Linked DNA regions of Homo sapiens: region 2 is linked to region 1. Evidence: promoter capture Hi-C in human tissues and cell types (Jung and others, 2019). All regions are on one chromosome and are shown on one strand. The core of a region is centred on a gene start or on the middle of the fragment in contact, and the rest is flanking DNA. Distances in the headings are between cores, read along the strand shown.

Evidence for each region. The method cuts DNA at HindIII sites, captures the fragments that hold promoters and counts their contacts. A contact is called where the count stands out against the background at its distance.
Region 2: a contact is called between a fragment that was not itself captured here and the fragment with the promoter of RTKN in region 1, in 1 of the 25 tissues and cell types used here (thymus).

What each region holds. Positions count from the first base shown.
Region 1 is chr2:74,439,957-74,443,657 of GRCh38, forward strand. It overlaps RTKN (rhotekin), which reads right to left and starts at 1,981. Exons shown (of 12, transcript NM_001015055.2): 1 at 1,750-1,981. The coding sequence starts at 1,860. RefSeq lists an enhancer at 1-169 and silencers at 597-906, 1,622-1,681, 1,992-2,071. The HindIII fragment of the contact is 13,295 bases long and covers 1-3,701 here.
Region 2 is chr2:74,126,181-74,129,881 of GRCh38, forward strand. It overlaps a transcript of TET3 not described here. Among named protein-coding and RNA genes, the nearest start is that of BOLA3, 20 kb to the right of the region's middle. The HindIII fragment of the contact is 4,351 bases long and covers 1-3,701 here.

The DNA.
Region 1 (3,701 bases), core at 731-3,230:
TGGTGGCAGCTGTTCTCCCAGCTGTGGAAGAAAAAGGCCCTTTCATTCCGACTCTGGCCGCTCCCCAGCCCCCGCCCACATCCCTGGCCTGGTGGACAGGGAATCTGTGTGCGGAGAGGGCAGTGAGGGGCAGGCACAACTGGAAGGGGGCAGGGAAACGACGCCTCATGCAGGTTCTAGAGTCATGGGGTTTGCAGGAGGTTGGAGCTTCCCGAGAGGGGTTCCAGCTTAGTTTGAGAAAGTTGGGAAAAAGAGCCACACAGGTGAGGACCTCAGGGGAGAGTGAGCCCAGGGAATGGGACAAAGGGGTGAGTTGGCAAAGCAGCCCAGCCCTAGGGCCACCCCTTCCAACTCAGGGCCCCCATCCAGCCCGCTCCACCCTGGGCTCACAATTACCTCGCTTTTCCAGAGAAGGGAGGAGAGGGAGAGAGGAAGGCAGGGGTGTGCCTGTCTGCTGCTGTCCCCGCTCCCTTCTGCAGGCCCCTTCCCTTCCAGACAGGAAACCAGCCCCGATTCCGAGCCAGCTGCAGCCTAGCGCCCCCGCCTCCACGCCAGGCCCACGGAGTCACACTTCACTCGGCGGCCGCCAGGCCCTGCGGCTCCGCCCCAGCTCCTCCGAGCTGTCCCCGAAGGCCGGGCTAATCCCAGGGGCGGCCCCAGCTCACAGGCCCCTCCCCCTGGTCCCGGGCCTCGCCCCTTACTCCCCCACGCTGGCCCCACGCGGGTTCCTCGGGCCCAGTCGCTTGGGGGCAAGGGGACGCGACAAAGGCCCCCTCTCCCCAGGTCCACTAGCTTCTGAGTCAGAGAAGGCCCGGGACGCCGGGACAAGGGTGTGAAAGAGCCTCTTTGTTCTGGGCAGGCTGGAGGGAAAGGGCAGAAGCCAGGCCTGGAATCCCAGCCGGGAGGTAGAGGGGGCGGAAGGAAGGCCCACCTCACTTAACCCTTTCCAGACCCGGAAGGGAAGGCTTGGAACTGGGCTCTCCTTGGGCGAGTGTGAGTCTGACCTTGGGGACAGAAGAGTCTTCGGGGTAGCTATTCGCCCTCTCAGTCCCCGCTCAACCACACACCTTCAGCCCCGCCCTAGCCCTTAGGGCGTTACAGGTGGGGATCCAACAGGTTAACGCGTGGACGGCGGACGGGGGAAACGCTCAGCCTAGGGGCTGGACTCCTCTTAGGCCCCAGAAAAGGAGGCGGAAATTTTGCGTGTGGGAAGTAACCCCAAGGAGTTAAAAGCCCTGCAGGGGCATAGAGGAGCCTTTGAATTGGGCTTCGGGGAAGCGAGCGGCCCCGGCCTAAAGTCGGGGTTGATGACAGAGGCTGGCCCAGATGGCTGCGACAGGTTGTGGGATGGGGCTGGCGACTGGGGAACAAGCGGGAGCCCAGGCCAAGAGTCCGAGCGCTTGGGGCCCGCCTAGCTGCCCACCGCCCTTGGCCCGGGGATGCCCAAGACATTTTGGGGTTCAGGCACATTTTAGGAGTCGAGCTGGGGCCCTACAAATTGAGACCAACCCGGGCTTTTTCCAGGCTCAGGCAGATAATCCTAACCAGGCCGCGGAATGGGCAGCATGGATCCGATGAAAATGCAGACCGTCCACACCTTACTTTTTAAGTCAACAACTCCGTCGGGTTTGTACCCAGACCGTGCGTCTCCGCCCCTCGGCGTGCACGCGGGCGAGGGAAGGAGGCCGAGGTGGCTGGGGCTGCCCCCGGGAGCCGCGGAAGGGGAAGGCAGGGACGCGAGTCTCTCACCTCGGGCAGGTCGCTGAAGAGGCTGAGTCGGAAGCGGCCGCGTTTGAACTCCATCTCCAGGGCGGAGCCCCTGGCCACGGTGACCCGGCTCCGGTGGTTTCGGGAGAACATGCTGGCGGCCCTGCGACTTTGCCTGCTCAGTGCGCTCCCCGCGCCGCCCGGCTTAGCCTCCTCTCCTCGGCTTCTGTCTCTCGACGCTCGTCCGCCAGTCCGGCCGGGAATCTCCCGCTGCGGGGCTCCAAACCCCGCCCCCGGAGACGACACCTGGGCCGGGCAGGGCGCGGCAACCTCCTCTTCCACCCCCGCCAAAGGCCCAGCCCGTCCGGCCAGTCCCTGGGCGCCAAGCCGACCTGGCCCGACGGCCCCGGAGCCCCCAGGGGCGCACTGCACCTCGCGAGCACTGTGGGAGCGCGTTCTCCCTGCCCGCGCGGGTCGCGAGCGCCTACCTGGACTTGGGACGGACCGAGAAGCCCTGCCCCGCCAGCCGCCCCAACCTGGCAAGCCTGGCTTCCCGGGCGCTGAAAACCCCGTGGCTCAGGGATCGCCGCGTAGCACGCTCTGGCTCTACTCGGGCCCTGGGACCTTGCCCAGTTTCAATCCCGGCAGCCTCCGAAGAGACCATTTCAACATCCCACAGTCCCAAATGTTCCTTCTTCGTCCCCCTCCCCACCTAGGCTCCTCTGCGAGGCTATCCGCCTAAGCCTAGTGGCCACAACTGATGGGGCGGTGCTTAAACACGTCGTGAAACCCCAGCTCTGTCACTAACTAACCGTGCAATCATTAACTTGGTCCAGTCACTGGCCTTTCTGAGCTTCAGTTTTCTCATTTGTTCAGTGGGAATACTGTAATTATCTCCACTCCTCAAGTTGCTATGAGGATTACCTATAAGAATGAGGGTAAAATGCCCAGCATAGTGCCTGGCACAAGGCAAGTGCCCCATATTTGCAGTCATAAAGAGCAGCTGCGCGCGGTGGCTCACGCCTGTAATCGCAGCACTTTGGGAGGCCTAGGAGGGTGGATCACCTGAGGTTGGGAGTTCGAGACCAGCCTGACCAACATGGAGAAACCCCATCTCTACTAAAAATACAAAATTTAGCCGGCCATGGTGGCACATGCCGGTAATCCCAACTACTTGAGAGGCTGAGGCAGGAGAATCGCTTAAACCCGGGAAGCAGAGGTTGTGGTGAGCTGAGACCCCACCATTGCACTCCACCCTTGGAAACAAGAGCGAAACTACGTCTAAAAAAAAGATGGCTGGGTGCAGTGGCTCAAGCCTGTAATCCTAGCACTTTGGGAGGCCAAGGGGGACTGATCGCTCTTGAGCTCAGGAGTTGGAGACCAGCCTGGGCAACATGAAACCCTGTCTCAACAAAACACACACACACACGCACACACACACACAAATTGGCCTGGCATGGTGGTGCACACCTGTAGTCCCAGCTACTCGGGAGGCTAAGGTGGGAGGATTGCTTGAGCCCGAAAGTTCAAGTCCAGCCTGGGCAACATAGTGGGACCCCATCTCTTAAAAAGCATTACAAATATGTATAATTTTTTATTTTTATTTATTTATTTATTTATTTATTTTAATTTTTTTTTTTTAAGACAGAGTCTCACTCTGTCACCCAGGCTGGAGTGCAATGGCATGATCTCGACTCACTGCAACCTCTGCCTCCTGGGTTCAATCGATTCTCCTGCCTCAGCCTCCGGAGTAGCTGGGATTACAGGCGTCTGCCACCATATCTGGCTAATTTTTGTATTTTTAGTAGAGATGGGGTTACACCATGTTGGTAAGGCTGGTCTCAAACTCTTGACCTCAGGCGATACACCCGCCTTGGTCTCCCAAAGTGCTGGGATTTCAGGCGTGGCCCACGCCTGGCCAATATTATCTATCTATAGATAGATATAGATATAGATAGATATAGATATAGATATAGATATAGATATAGATATAG
Region 2 (3,701 bases), core at 625-3,124, 310 kb before region 1:
GGTCAGTTAACCTGTTGGTTTTTATATATGGCACCAACTGATCTCTACCAGATTGACACAGTAGATCAGCTGTTTTAATGCTGAAAAGAGAAGCTTATATAAATACAGTGCACATCTATTAATGCTTCTCACGTCTGTAGTTCTGTTTCAGGCAGAGGTTTTTTGGCATAGGACCTGTATTCAGCTCACACTTTCCTAGGCTGGCTATGAGTAGAATGCCTCGTGGCAGTAGCTACACTCATACATAGGCATTGATCTTAGATCTGTGTAGAGTTTTAAATCATTGGCATCTTTTAGGCCTAAATTTTATATTTGCTGGATTTTTTTTTTTTTTTTTTTTGAGATGGAGTCTTGCTCTGTCACCCAGGCTGGAGTGCAGTGGTGCATCTCTGCTCACTGCAAGCTCCGCCTCCCGGGTTCACACCATTCTCCTGCCTCAGTGTCCCACGTAGCTGGGACTACAGGCACCCGCCACCACTCCCGGCTAATTTTTTGTATTTTTTCAGTAGAGACGGGGTTTCATCGTGTTAGCCAGCATGGTCTCAATCTCCTGACCTCATGATCCACCTGCCTCGGCCTCCCAAAGTGCTGGGATTACAGGCGTGAGCCACCACACCCAGCCTGGAATTTTTTTAAAGCAGTAAATGTAAACGCTAACTTTAGAAAATATTAATAATATGATTAATTTTAGCCAGAATAAAATAATTTGCCATCTTTATAGAAATCTGGCCACGTAGGAATTAGCATTCTTAAAATTGGCACTGAAGCCAGAAGATGGATAGTGAAATTGGTCACATGCATAGACAGCTACCAAGTCCAGTGTTTAATGGTGCCCAGTGAAGAGGATTGAAGCACACACCAGAGAAGCAGCTGTAACTGGGTCAGAAGAAAAGTGTCAGGCTGAGACTTAGTTTTAGGTAGAAAAATGAGCTGCTTGCCTCTACATTCATTATTGGCTCATCTCATAAACTCAAATGAGGGGATCAGAAGCTGGCAGAAGGGACGGACTCATGCTTGTTGATCCGGATGACCTCTGTTTCAAGGTTCCAGCAATGAGTTAGCTTACATTTTACAAGGTCTCCCAAAGTGAAATGTAGTAGTCTTTACTTAGTGACAGACTAATTTACAACTATGTAATTCTTTTAAGTTTGTAATTAAAATTTCTTCTGAATTATTAATGGCTTTATTGACATGATGTTAATAAAGCCTCTCATCTTGCTGTTAAGTATTGTAGTGAGAAAATCAGCTGACCTGGAAACCATGGGGATTGGTTCTAATGAGCCATAAATGCTTCCCCTCTTCCTTCAGCACTAGTAGACTACCAGCTTTAGGCATTTAACCAAACGAATTGGAGACAGAAAATATTAAAATCCAGCCATCCTATATCAGATGATGAACTCATTTCCAGACTAACTACCCAAGAAAGCAAGTTAAACACTGTAAAAGCCTAAAACGGGGCAAGTTGGGATTAGCTTTTAAAATGCCTGCCTTGAAAAACACATTATTCTGTGAGGTTTTTTTTTTTTCTTTAAAGTTGTGCAAATTTGATTCGGAAAAATAGCTTAATAGGTTTGTATAGGGCACGGGAGAAGGGGTTGTGTGCATAAATGTATGATGATTATTTTAAGTGTGTGCTTCAGCAGCGACAACAAACAGATGAAGATACGTGATACTGACTAAACAGGCAAGAGTATTTTCTAGTCTCAGTTCTTCTAGTCAATGCCTAAAGTATTAGAAAAAGTACTGAAACAATTCCCAAAGCATCAGGAATTTCCATTTCTAGTCAAAATATTGTTTGTTTTCTTCCAACAGTTCTGTTAAATAAAAGGAAAAGTTATAAAGTTTTAGAGATATATTTAATGTCACAGGTTAATAATGTGTGTATAGAAGCCTTCTCTAACCTTGTTTGTAAATCTACCAAACCTCACCTCAAACAGTGTTCTCCTTAAACCCATCCTTTTTGTGCAAAGCTACTGCTTCCTGATGTCCATAACTCAAGGCATTTTTTTTTTCGCTTGGTGTAGTTTCTGAAATGTGATTATTTAATGTTTGCCAAGATGTTTGGAATAGAGTAACTTTCAACTAATCAATTGATTGTGACTTTCTTCTTTTGTAGTTTTTGTTTTTAAAATTGCTTTCTGTCAAACCCATCTATAATTCCCCCAGAATATATTTATATGGACTAAGGCTTACCAAAAATAAGGAAAATCGGAGAAACTGCCACCGCCAGGAGGAGCCAAGGGGACATGATGACTAAATGTAATCTGGTTTCATGGAGGGGCTACCTAGAAAAAAGACATTAAGGGAAGACTAAGGAAACTTGAATAAAGTATGGGCTCTCCTTAATAATAGTGTAACAAATTCATTGTAACAAATGCCCCATACTAACGTAAGATGTGAATAATCAGGGAAACTGGATGTGGGACATATGGGAACTCCACTATCTTCAAAATTTTTCTGTAAATGTAGAACTGTTCTAAAACAATAAAGACTATAAAAAAATAATAAAGACTATTAGAAAAAAAAAAAGGCTGGGCTTATGCTTGTAATCCCAAGACTTTGGGAGGCCAAGGCAGGAAGATCACTTGAGGGCAGAAATTTGACCAGCCTGGGCAACATAGTAAGACCTCAACTCTACAACAACAACAACAACAACAATAAAATAGCCAGGCATGGTGGTGCACACCTATACTCCCAGCTACTTGGGAGGCTGAGGTGGGAGGATCAGCTGAGCCCCAGAAGTCAAGGCTGCAGTGAGTTGTGAATGCACAACTGCACTTCAGACTGGTTGACAGAGATCCTGTCTCAATTTAAAAAAAAAAAAAAAAAAAAAAAAAGGCTGGGCATGATGGCTCACACCTATAATCCCAGCACTTTGGGATTAGTGCTGGGATTGAGGCAGGCAGATCACCTGAGGTCGTGAGTTTAAGAACAGCCTGACCAACATGGAGAAACCCCATCTCTACTAAAAATACAAACTTAGCTGGGCATGGTGGCTCATGGCTCATACCTGTAATCCCAGCTACTCAGGAGGCTGAGGCAGGAGAATCTCTTGAACCCGGGAGGCAGAGGTTGCAGTGAGCCGAGATTGCACCATTGCACTCCAGCCTGGACAACAAGAGTGAAACTCCGTCTCAAAAAAAAAAAAAAAAAAAAAAAAAAAAAAACCCGGCCGGGCACAGTGGCTCATGCCTGTAATCCCAGCACTTTGGGAGGCTGAGGCAGGCAGATCACCTGAGGTCAGGCGTTTGAGACCAGCCTGGCCAACATGGTGAAACCTCGTCTCTACAAAAAACGCAAAAATTAGCCAGGAGTGGTGGCAGGCACCTGTAATCCCAGCTACTCAGGAGGCTGAGGTGGGAGAATTGCTTGAACCCAGCAGGCAGACTATAGTGAGCCAAGATCGCACCACTGTGCTCCAGCCTGGGAGACAGAGCAAGACCCTGTCTCAAAAAAAAAAATGAATTGAAAAAACCTTAAGGGCATTACTTGAACATCAGTTGTTTTACTCTTTTATGTGATCATCTTTTGTGCCCCCAATGACTTTTTTGTTTTTATATCTTCCAGAGAGAGGCAGGAGTCTGTTGTTACACTCACACTGAATTCCCTGGTGGCTGCTTTATTGGCTTTAGGCCAGGTGCAGTGGCTCACGCCTATAATCCCAGCACTTTGGGAGGCCGAGGTGGACGGATTACCTGAGG